2 separate regions of the Homo sapiens genome follow, and region 2 is linked to region 1. Evidence: promoter capture Hi-C in human tissues and cell types (Jung and others, 2019). All regions are on one chromosome and are shown on one strand. Each heading gives the region's core, a stretch centred on a gene start or on the middle of the fragment in contact. The rest is flanking DNA. Distances are from core to core; before and after follow the strand shown. Region 1 holds the start of AARD (alanine and arginine rich domain containing protein). Region 2 has its middle 42 kb from the start of AARD.

Region 1 (5,872 bases), core at 3,261-5,760:
AAGCATCCTGCTCTCTTCTAAGTGTTCTCTCTTGTTCCCCCTTTGATCTTGGTGGTGAAAACAGAATAATAGGTTAAGATGTTGATGTTTGGAGGTAAAAGAAATATAAACTGAGGGTGTCTCCACCTGATCATCTTTATGAAAAGGCAAGGTACCAGGAGCAGACAGCACAGAATGGGGCTAACTTCTCACTCCATGACTTTCTAAGGGTTGCGACCTTCAAGGAATTACTTAATGTCTTTGTGCCTTAGTTTTTCCATCTGTAAAATGTTGTTAGTTTTGGCATTTACCTCATAGGGTTGGTGTGAGAAGGGAATGTAAAGCAAATGGAAATAGTAGCTGGCATATACTAAGTGCTATGTGAGTTAACAGTTGTCAATTCTCACCTCAGTGAAGTAAAAAATGGTTTCTGTGCAGTATAATGGGAATGGAGACACAATGAGAGGGTAGGTGGTGGTCAGAGTCCACATGGTCTTTGTGAGAGATTTGAGGTGGTCAGGGAGGTATGAATCAAGGGATGGTTGTGTAATGTTGAGAGGACATCTGAAGTCGGGCATCACATTGACTGCTTAAAAACAGGAGTAAAGACATTGAATAAATAGGATTGAAATTAACTGGGTAGGGTTGGCAGAAGGCCAAGTGGATAGAGCACTAGAAGGTGCTGATATGAGTTAGCTGAAATAATTTACCACAAGATTCTGGGTGGGAAAAGAGAAACAGAAGAGTACTTCAGAAAGTCATTTCTCTTGAATTGAGGGGTCAGAGTGAATTGTGGATAGAAAAAAGGATGTGGACTGAGAATAGATTTTCAGAATTCAGGCTTTTAAAGATATCATTCTGGGTGATAGCATACTTTCAGGTGTGGCTCATGTGACTGGATTACTGCAGTGAAACAAATGCCAGAGATGAAGATCAGGGAAATAGAGGGAATCAAATATTTTGTTCAGTTTAATTAACTAGGCAATTGATCACCTAGTATGTGCTAAATGGGTTTTGTGTTGTTGTGAACAAGATATAGGTATTTCCTAACCATTAAGTTAAAAAATGTATATAACAATATATATATTTGTTTTTTAAAAACATATATATAAAACCATATGTTTATTAATTAAGAGGAATCAAAGTCACTTACGTATACCTAGATACTTACCATTTCTTATGTTACTCATTTCTTCCTGAAGATCTGTGTTTCCCTGTACTATTATTTTACTTCAGCTGAGGAATTTCCTTTAGTACTTCTTATAGTGTAAGCCTGCTTGTGACAAATTTTCCTAATTTTCCTTTTTTAAAAACATGCTTTTTGAGATTGGTTTTTGGGAGGATATTTTTGCTGAACTTAGAATTCTGTGTTAATTTAGTTCTCTCTGCGTTTAAAAATATCTCAATGTTTTCTGGACTCCTTTTTTTTTCTGCAGGAAGTCAGAAGTCATTTGTATCATTGTTTACTTACGTGTAATGTACATATGTTTCTCCCATGGTAGTTTAAAAATATATTTGGAAATTTTTGATACTCCCTACTTCAAAAGGTGGAGCTGAGGTTCCTCCCCTTGAATATAGCTCCAACTTAGAGACTTGATACTGATCAGCAGAATGGTAATAACTGACTTCCAAAGCCAGGTCATAAAAATGTAGTTCAGAGCACATGTAAAGAGCTTCTCTCTGGCTCTCTGTATTTCTCTCTTCTTGTTTTGAGGGAAGTCTACCCACTATATCATGAAGACGCTTACACAATAGTAGGAAAGAGTCCACATGGAGAGGAACTGAGGCCTCCCACCAAGTGCTGGCTCCAATTGCCTGGCATTTGAGTGATTCATCTAAGTGATTCACCTTGCCAGCAGATCCTCCAGCGCCAATCACATCCAGCTTCAGAGGATGGAGACCTTGCCTGACATTTGGTTACAACAGCATAAAAGCTAAGGACCATAACCTAAGCTGTTCCCAAATTCTTTCCCACAGAAGCTGTCAGAGAAAATAAATGTTTATTTTTTTAAACCATTGAATTTTGGAGTAATTTGTTATGCAGCAATAAATAATTAATACATTTTCTAATTCAAATGTCTGTGGATGTTATATTCAGTGCTCCAATTCTTCAATTTGCTTTGCCTGTGTAAGAGAAAGAAAAAAAATTGTAAAATTCAAGGTGTACCACAACTGAAAAATTAACCTATAGAGGAAAATTATTAATTTGTGGTAAACCAGTTTATTTTAAAAAAACATTTTGTCTCCTTGGTTTGCCATTGTAGCTTGAGCACCTTGTGTAATGCTTGGTACATAATAAGACATTAAATAAATATTGTTAAATGAATGAATCAATAAATTTGCTTCCTCAGGTTTTAAGCTTCTGGGGGACAAAAACTATGCCTTATTCATCTTTGTATCTCCCTCATATGGCACAATTCTTAACACTGAACATGCGCCATTCACTGTTGAGTTAAATTGAACTTAACTGAAATTCTTGTTGAAGTAAATGATCTGGAAATGGAAGTGAAAAATCATAGCAAAAAATTCATTTTAAACGTTTATATTGTACATTGACTAGTGGTGGTTTTCAAGCCCCATCAACCTATCACCAACCAACAAACAAAAAACCCTAAATTCACACTCCATTGCTGCATGGCAGACCACATGGATTTTTATAATTTCTACCAAGACAACACATCTTCAGATGTTTCTAGGGAATCTTTATGAAGCAATATACAATGGTAGGAATTTTACTGTGCTTGGGTTGTAAACTATTGCAAGCTGTTCAATTTAGTAGATTATCTGCACAGGCTGAGTAACCTGTATTGTTCCTTATCCAGTTGAGCCTTAAGCCATTTCAATAGAGCCGAATTTTATGAACATAGTGAATTTAAACACTTATTCACTCTTACTCACTCACTCATGCAACATATAAACTGAGCAACTCTCTTCCTCTTTGGGAGATAAAGCGTATCCAGGGTGTATCCCAGTGGTTTGGAGCACAAGCCAGACTTCCTAGGTGCAAATTTCCAGTGGATCCCTTACCAGCTTTGAGATCTTTGGTGTACGTCTTAATCTCTTGCCTTAGTTTCCTCAATTGTAAAATGCAGAAACTAATAGTACTTACCTCACAAGGTTGCTGTGAAGATTAATACATAAAAATTGCCTGGCACATACTAAGCATGAATAAAAATCAGTTGTTATTGCCTTCAATGCCTACCATGGACCCTGGAACATTGCAAGTGACTTGTAACTTTTGAATGAATGAATGAATGAATGATGAATAAGATGAGAGTTGTGTCTAAACTATGTTTTGTTTTTTTTTGTAATTGCATTCTTTGATCATACAAAAGTTTTGATTGTTCACTCCTTTTTAGAAATTCCCTATTAGATCAAAAAGAGGCAGAATATGTTCTTTGATAAAGGATATACAGGTAATATTGGCACATGATTACCTGGAGTTGGTGTATTAGTCTGTCCTCTCACTGCTATAAAGAAATACCGGAGACTGGGTAATTTGGAAAGAAAAGAGGTTTAATTGGCTCATGGTTCTGTATGCTATACAGAAAGCATGGCAGCATCTGCTTCTGGGGAGGCCTCAGGGAGCTTTTACTCATAGTGGAAGGCAAAGCGAGAGCAAGTGTCTTACATGGCAGAGCAGGAGTGAGAGAGAGAGAGGAGGTGCCATACACTTTAAACAACCAGATCTGGTAAGAACTCATTCACTATAAAGTACCAGGCGGGAATGGGGCTAAACCCATTCATGAGAACTCTACCTCCATGATCCAATCACCTCCCACCAGGCTTCATCTCCAACACTGGGGATTACAATTCCACTGGAATTTGGTGATGACACAGAGCCAAACCTTATTAGTTGGGAATTAAACACACACACTTTGGGCTAAGGGGAATTTTGATTTTTCATTTTAACCCCTTCATAAACGTGGACATGGCAGACAGGAGTCAAAATAGAAAGGAGCATGGAGACTCAGACTTCCAGGTATGCCTTACTGAACCTGTAGAAGGTACATTCTAACTAGCAAGCAGGGCCAAGGCTCTCCCCCTTGACTGCGGGCAATACCTGGGGAAAGGTGAGGGGTCTAATTAAGCCTTTGCATTCCCCAAACTTGGCAAAGTGCCTGGCAGAGTAGGAAGAAAAAAAATTGTTTTTAAGGAATGACGTATTAGACGATCAAGGCAACCAGGAAGGCTTTGGGTTGAAATATTCTAACCTTTGGTCATAAACCTTCCACCTGTACCTCAACTTCCACTTACATAGGCTGACTGCTCAGTTACCAAGCCTTCTCCTTAGAAAGACTTCCTTTCAATGCAAGCAGCAGAAAAAAGCGACTCAGCTTAAACTTCTCCTGGAGTTATGGGAACCGCCTCCTTCCTCTGTCGCTAATGGAGGACTAAGATGGGACTGGGAGCAAAGGAGCGTCTCTGAATGGCGGGGCAGTTGCAGCATCCCACTTGGCAAGGGTCCTTGAATTACCTCCGCCCCCGCCCTGACCCCGCCCTAAACATCAAACTTAGAAACTCATCTTTCAGCAGCAGCGGTAGAGCAGTGACCAGGCGTCTCCGCGATGGGCCCCGGGGACTTCCGCCGCTGCAGAGAGAGAATTTCCCAGGGGCTCCAGGGACTCCCAGGTAGAGCGGAGCTTTGGTTCCCACCTCGTCCCGCGTGCGACTTCTTCGGGGACGGCAGGAGCACGGACATCCAGGAGGAGGCCCTCGCCGCCAGCCCGCTGCTGGAGGACCTCAGACGACGGCTGACGCGCGCCTTCCAGTGGGCGGTGCAGCGCGCGATCTCGAGGCGCGTGCAGGAGGCGGCGGCGGCGGCGGCGGCGCGGGAGGAGCAGAGCTGGACGGGCGTTGAGGCCACCCTGGCCAGGCTGCGGGCGGAGCTGGTGAGAGAGCGGGCTAGGCGGACGGCTCCCAGGGCTCCCTCTCCCGGGTCCTCTCCTCCAGCTGCAGAGCCGCTGGCCGCGTAGCCCACCCGACGCCTTGGGGGGCCCCTCAGGTCTGGACACGGCGTTGACGCCCCCGCCTCCCCAGCATCGTTGGGAAGGAAAAGGGCCCTGCAGGACCCATGGTGGGGGGTGGGGGCGGGGGTGCCTGGTCTACCAGTGACATACCCAAGATGTCTCCTCCCCAACCCGTTTCTATAGTTTTCTGCCCTGTAGGGAACTGTGACTATGTGTATGTATGGCTCGCGGAGGAGGAAATTTCCATGAAATAAACTCTCTCTTGCGATTGATGGAGTGTGTCCATCAGTAACTCTTTCTTTATGCCCCGCAAGTTTTATTCTTATCTTTCCCGTGGGTAATAATTTAGAAAACTGGAAGTGATAAGGTATTTTGTAAAATTGCACCATTTCGAACATTACACAGGTTACATCCGAATATTAAACAGGAGGGTGTATAGGTAAATATTTTAGCTGACTGATTTTTTTTAATTCAAAAAACTGGAAATTAGTCACAACTTGAAAAGGACACAATGAATAGGAGCAATCAGACTTTAAAATGGTGCTGCCTAGGAAAGTGTGCAGTGGAGACTTGACTTGGAAAATTCTTCTCTTTTGCACTGATTACTAATACAATTAACCACTACTTTAGAACTGAGCCAACCATTAGTAAATTGTCTTATTTAAGAATGTTATCGCATTTCTAAGTTTAAGAAGAACAGTATTAGGCCGGAGCTGTGGCTCATGCCTGTAATCCTAGCTCTTTGGGAGGCCGAGGCAAGTGGATCACCTGAGGCCAGGAGTTCGAGACCAGCCTGGCCAAAATGGTGAAGTCCTGTCTCTACTAAAAATACAAAAATTAGCCAGGTATGGTGGCTGGCACCTGTAATCCCAACTACTCCAGAGGCTGATGCAGGAGAATCGCTTGAACCTGGGAGGCAGAGG
Region 2 (6,195 bases), core at 2,074-4,573, 42 kb after region 1:
GGGGGTCTTACAATGACTACTTAGCAGGATGTCATCATTGCTGTGGACCAGGGGATGCTGAGTTTCCCCTTTTATTTTTCTTTCTTTCTTTCTTTCTTTCTTTTTTTTTTTTTTTTACAGAGTCTCTCTCTGTTGCCAGGCTGGAGTGCAGTGGCACGAACTCAGCTCACTGCAACCTCCACCTCCTGGGTTCAAGCGATTCTCCTGCCTCAGCCTCCCGAGTAGCTGGGATACTGCAAGCATGTGTCACCACACCTGGCTAATTTTTGTATTTTTAGTAGAGACAGGGTTTCACCATGTTGGCCAGGATTGTCTTGATCTCTTGACCTTGTGATCTGCCTGTCTCAGCCTCCCAAAGTGCTGGGATCATAGGCAGGAGCCACCGTGCCTGGCCTTTTCTTTCTTTTTCTTTTTCTTGCTTTTTTTTTTTTTTTTTTTTTTTGAGATTCAGTCAGTCGCTCTGTTGCCCAGGCTGGAGTGCAGTGGCACGATTTCCGTTCACTGCAAGCTCCGCCTCCTGGGTTCACGCCATTCTCCTGCCTCAGCCACCCGAGTAGCTGGGACTACAGGCGCCCGCCACCACACCTGGCTAATTTTTTTTTTTGTATTTTTAGTAGAGACGGGGTTTCACTGTGTTAGCCAGGATGGTATTGATCTCCTGACCTCGTGATTCGCCTGCCTCCACCTCCCAAAGTATTGGGATTACAGGCGTGAGCCACCGTGCCTGGCCTTTTCTTTCTTTTCCTAAATGGGAGTTTATTGTAGACACACTGTTACTACTTTACCACTTTTTTTTTTTTTTTTTTTGAGATAGAGTCTGGCTCTGTCGCCCAGGCTGGAGTGCAGTGGTGCGATCTCTGCTCACTGCAACCTCCGCCTCCCGGGTTCAAGCAATTCTCCTAACTCAGCTTCCTGAGTAGCTGAGACTACAGGCGTGTGTCACCACACCTGGCTAATTTTTGTATGTTAAGTAGAGATGGGATTTCACCATGTTGGCCAAGATGGTCTCAATCTCTTGATCTCATGATCCACCTGCCTCGGCCTCCCAAAGTGTTGGGATTACAGGTGTGAGCCACCACTCCCAGCCTGCTCTACCACTTTCTATTGGATGTGGGGGAAGGGAAAGCCTGTTTTGCCTGGCAATGAATAAGCTCAGCTTAGTTTTCTCAGCTCTGATGGTTATATTTTTACATGAATTTCTTAAAGATAAGCTGTTTCCCATGAACGTTCCTTTTCTTCCCTTCTGCTTGCTGGGAAATGGCTAGTACCCGAAGAGCATGTTAAAGATGGCAGAGCTATCTTGCCAACTTTGGTCAGTTCCCCTCTAGGTTGTCCTGAAAAAGAAAAGCACCCTTCCCATTTAACCTTCCTGTAACCTTCCTGTATTTTGGTCACTTTTTCAAACCAGTATAGCCTAGTCTCTAACTAGTACTCAACATAAAAGTCCTGGTCTATCAACATACTGGTTACATACATAAAGTCTTAGCCTGGTACCTTGCATATTGTATTTTTTTTAGTCAGTGTTTGATATTATTATTAATAATGAATATGCTTGTTGACTGACTGAATGAGGAATAGGTATGTAAAATCTATGTTACTGTTAAAAGACTTTGGGAAGGATGGGGTAAGAATTTTGGATACCATTTGCATCATTGAATAGAAATGAAGAAACACATAAAACCACTGGCTATGATGCTCTAACAGTTATTTTGAGCATACATGATGCTTGATGCTTTATATAGTCTTTTCTTGGCACGCTTCTAATCTAAATGAGGTGATTAGTAATATTGCAAACTGAGGATAAAAATGCACGTTAAGTCTGACAGGTGGTGATTATTGCTTGCTCTTTTTTTCCCTTTGTCTCTTTTCTCTCTTATTACAGTATGTGCAAGAGCTTAAATAAAATATCTCACAAAAATGTTATGAAAGAAAGCCACATGCTGTGTATTTACTACAAATATGTCTTAAGTGTTCAGACATAATCTGATGCTGCCCCTTGGAGATATTCTGCATAGATAATTATTTTCTGGAAATTTTCTGAGACCAGTCCAGTGGCCTTAAAAATGCATCAGTCTCCAGCAGCCTTAAGAATGCTTCATATATATATGCATATGCTCACCTATATGTGCATTTCTGTTTTAGAAACACCTGTGAGTCACTGTCATCCTACCTGTGAAGGGCTGTATCTTTTTTTTTTCTTTCTTTTTTTCTTTTTTTTTTAAATCATAAGGAGGCCGGGCACAGTAGCTCATGCCTGTAATCCCAGCACTTTGGAAGGCCGAGGAGGGTGGATCACTTGAGGTCAGGTGTTTGAGACCAGCCTGGGCAACATGATGAAACCCCGTCTCTACTAAAAATACAAAAATTAGCTGGGTGTGGTGACACACGCTTGTAGTATCCCAGCTACTCGGGAGGCTGAGGCATGAGAATGGCTCGAACCTGGGAAGCGGAGGTTAAAGTAAGCAGTGATTTTGCCATTGCACTCCAGCCTGGGCAATAGCGTGAGACCCTGTCTCAAAAAAAAAAAAAAAAAAAAAAAAAAGAAAACAAATCATAAAGATAATTGTGTCTCTTTTAAGCACTCATTCTAGGTGTGACTGGGTTACAATTTACTCCAACGTTATCCTCCTCGAAGAAAACATAAATGCATAAAGCAGAGAAGGGATAGAGACTAAATGTCTTGGGGAATCCAGAAATGGAGCAGGACATCTTTCTTTCCCTGTCGTTGGCTTCCATTCTGCCAAGGTTAGATAGGACCGGAGATTAGTGGTCCTCTGATGAGACTTTAACGAATCTTTGGGTACTGGTGGTCTCAGACCCATTTCTGAACGGCATTTGTCCAAGTCTTGAAAATTTCTGGACCAAGTTTCCTTACAGTGTCCTCAGGGGACTGTCTGAAGAAAAATGGCAGAACCTATGCCAAAGGCCATGGAGGCACAGAGCAGAAGTGTGAGGCCAACGCAAGTGGATTCTTCATGTACTCACTTGTCCCGGGAGAGGTGAGCTTCCCCTAAGAGGGCCCCTGAAATAAGGCATTTGCAAGATGTCGCTACCCATGAAAGCAGTCTGTTATCTTCTGCCCTGGACCTTTTTACCCAGGAGCTTGATTGCTGGGACCATGCCAACAAATAGCATTCTCTTGCAGCAGAAATAAAATGAGAAGGAAAATTAAAAACTTTTATGAGGTAAGGATAGGATCATTTCCAAAGAAACAGAAGCTTAGAGGAAGGAAGAAAAGAAAGTGAAGACAGCATAACATCAGGTTTGACTTTTCTGAAAATCACAATGACCAATACCCTAAATGATGTTATTAAAACAAAGGGAACGACTATGGATGTGATTCCTTGATCCCTGCTCCTTCTGAGGCTTGAGAAACTTTATATAACCTTAGTAGAGATTTTATAATCTGGGCTGCTGAAATTTCAAATAAGTACATATTGCCTTAATTTTATCTTAACCCCTGCCATGTGATTGATGCATCACTTTTTTTGGTAGTTTTGGGCTGTTTAGTTATTGTGATTTATTTGTAAAAATAATACATATTTGTCTTAGAATGGATTCTACAGAGGCTGGGCCTGAAATGGGGAGTCTTGTCCAGGTGATCTGTAGGGAGAGTCTTCTTGGGAGGAGGGGACTGAGGTAGCAGGAAAGGGCAGGGGGAGAATTTAAGCAGTATGTAGTCTCAGCTGGAGACCAGCTTTAATCTCATCCCACAGGAAGTTCTGGAGCAGAAATCACACCACACAGTTGGTCCTCCCTTGAAGTGAGGAGGCTGGCTCTGATTTCCTTGTGTCAGTCAGTCATTGGCTGAGGTCTGGGGATATAAAGTGTCATCTTGGCAAAAAGACTTTCATTTGGCCAAGAGCAATTCTCCAGAAAAAAGGACAACTGTGAGTTATTTATCAGCCAACACACACAGCAACTGGAAGATGAGTCTACAACTGGAAAGGGGAATAGAAAACTCTATGCTGCAGCAGAACAAGGTAAAGAATGAAGGAACACTCTCAAAACACACCCCCATCGAAAGGCAACTACCATCACCTTTAGGTGATTATCCTTCCAGACATGTCTGTTACCTCTCAACCAATGCACATATGAATATTTCTGCTAATGTGATTTTCACATATTAATTATTATAAAGACACTATCATTTCTGATGGTGCCATAGGATTTCACTATGATTTGGTTAACAAATTTATTTAATGAATGGGTGTTCTAATTACTATTGCTGCATAACAAGTCACCCTAAACTTAGTGGCATAAAACAACAACCATTTTATAAATGCTCACCAACACCGAGGGTCACAAATTCAGGCAGGGCCCATGGGATGGCTCTTCTGCTTAGTGATGTCTTGGCCATCGGCTGGTACTGGAGGTGTTAAATGGTTGGACTGAAGGATGTACTGCCACAATAATTTCACTTCCATGTGTAGCAATTTGCGGTGATGTGTTGGCTGGAAGGCTGTGCTAAGCTGGGACTCTCACTCTAGTATGGTGACTTTGTGGTAGCTGCACTTTTTGCTTGACAGCTTGGTGCTCTAGAGAACCAGGTGGAAGCTACATGACTTTTCTTGACCAAGGCTCAGAACTCACAAAGCATCCCTTCCACAGTCCTCTCTTGGTTCACACACTCATGTGAAGTCACAAGTAGGCCCTGATACAAGAGGAGGAGAAGTCAGTCCTACTTATTTTTTTTAAAGTTATATTTTAGATTCAAGAGTACGTGTGTAGGTTTGTTATACAGGTAAATTGCATGTCACAGGAGTTTAGCATACAGATTATTTCACCACCCAGGTAATAAGCATAGCACCTGTTAGGTAGTTTTTCGATCCTCCCATTCCTCCCTCTCACTACCCTCAAGCAGGTCCTAGTATCTGTTGTTCCCTACTTTGTATGCATATGTACTAAATGTTCAGCTCCCACTTGTGGGTGAGAACATGTGGTATTTGACTTTCTGTTTCTATATTAGCTCACTTAGGATAATGGCCTCCCACTCCATCCATGTTGCTGCAAAAGACATGATCTTGTTCTTTTTTATGGCTGTGTAGTATTCCATGGTGTGTATGTACTACATATTTTAAATCCAGTCTATGATTGATGGGCATTTAGGTTGATTCTGTGTCTTTGCTATTGTGAATAGTGCTGTGATGAACATATGTGTGCATGTGTCTTTATGATAGAATCATTTACATTCCTTTGTGTATATACTCAGTAATAGGATTGCTGGGTTGAATGGTAATTCTGCTTTGAGTTCTTTGAGAAATTGTTACACTGCTTTCCACAATGGCTAAACTAATTTATATTCCCACCAGCAGTGTATAAACATTCCCTTTTCTCTGCAACCTTGCCAGAATCTGTTATTTTTTCATTTTTAGTAATAGCCATTCTGACTGATGTCATAGATGGTATCTCATTGTGGTTTTGATTTGTATTTCTCTAATGGTTAGTGATGTTGGCCATTCTTTCATATGCTTAATGTCAAAGAATTTGAGGTGACTGAAAAAAATCTTCACTGTAAACATTTAGGTTGTTTCCAGTTTTTTTTTTTCATATCTTGTTGCTAACAATGCCACTATGAATATTCATACACAGTAAGTTTTCACTTAACATTATTGTCCATAGATTCTTGGAGACTGCAACTTTAAGCAAAACAATATGTAGGGAAACCAGTTTTACCATAGGCTGATTGATGGAAACAACAGTGATATTCCTACAGCATATTTGTAGTCACAAAACATCACCAGACTTCTAAAGAGAGATAAAATACTTCTAATATTTTACATTACAATAAATGTGAGCTACACACACAAGAAAGATTAATAAAAGCAAATAAGATAGTTATTTACTTAATTAGTCCAGTTCAGCATGGTGGGTGGCTGGAACCTGTCCACTGATCAATCAATCCCATTTATTCCAGTCAGAATCAATTTTTTTCCCTATCAGTCCAGAACAAAATGACATTGAACCAGATTACATTGTTCCAGAATCTGCTGCACAAATAATCTCTCACACGTGAAACATTATCACCTCAGGGGAAATTCCTTTAGTGGAACTCCTAGGTAAAGGGGCACATATATTTTTTTAAAAAAATTAATTCATGCTCCCTGGAGAACCTGCATCAATTTATACTTCCATCAAAAGTGTAAGAGAGTACCTTTGTGTGCTTGTGTATTTGTGTGTGTGCATGTGCTGAAT

The links. Contacts are between HindIII fragments. The study calls those that stand out against the background at their distance.
Region 2: a fragment that was not itself captured here is called in contact with the fragment with the promoter of AARD in region 1 in 1 of the 25 tissues and cell types used here (H1 embryonic stem cells).

What each region holds. Positions count from the first base shown.
Region 1 is chr8:116,933,697-116,939,568 of GRCh38, forward strand. AARD (alanine and arginine rich domain containing protein) reads left to right here and starts at 4,511. Exons shown (of 2, transcript NM_001025357.3): 1 at 4,511-4,871. The coding sequence starts at 4,548. RefSeq lists a silencer at 4,781-4,880. The HindIII fragment of the contact is 10,639 bases long and covers 1-5,872 here.
Region 2 is chr8:116,976,723-116,982,917 of GRCh38, forward strand. It overlaps a transcript of SLC30A8 not described here. Among named protein-coding and RNA genes, the nearest start is that of AARD, 42 kb to the left of the region's middle. The HindIII fragment of the contact is 4,108 bases long and covers 1,270-5,377 here.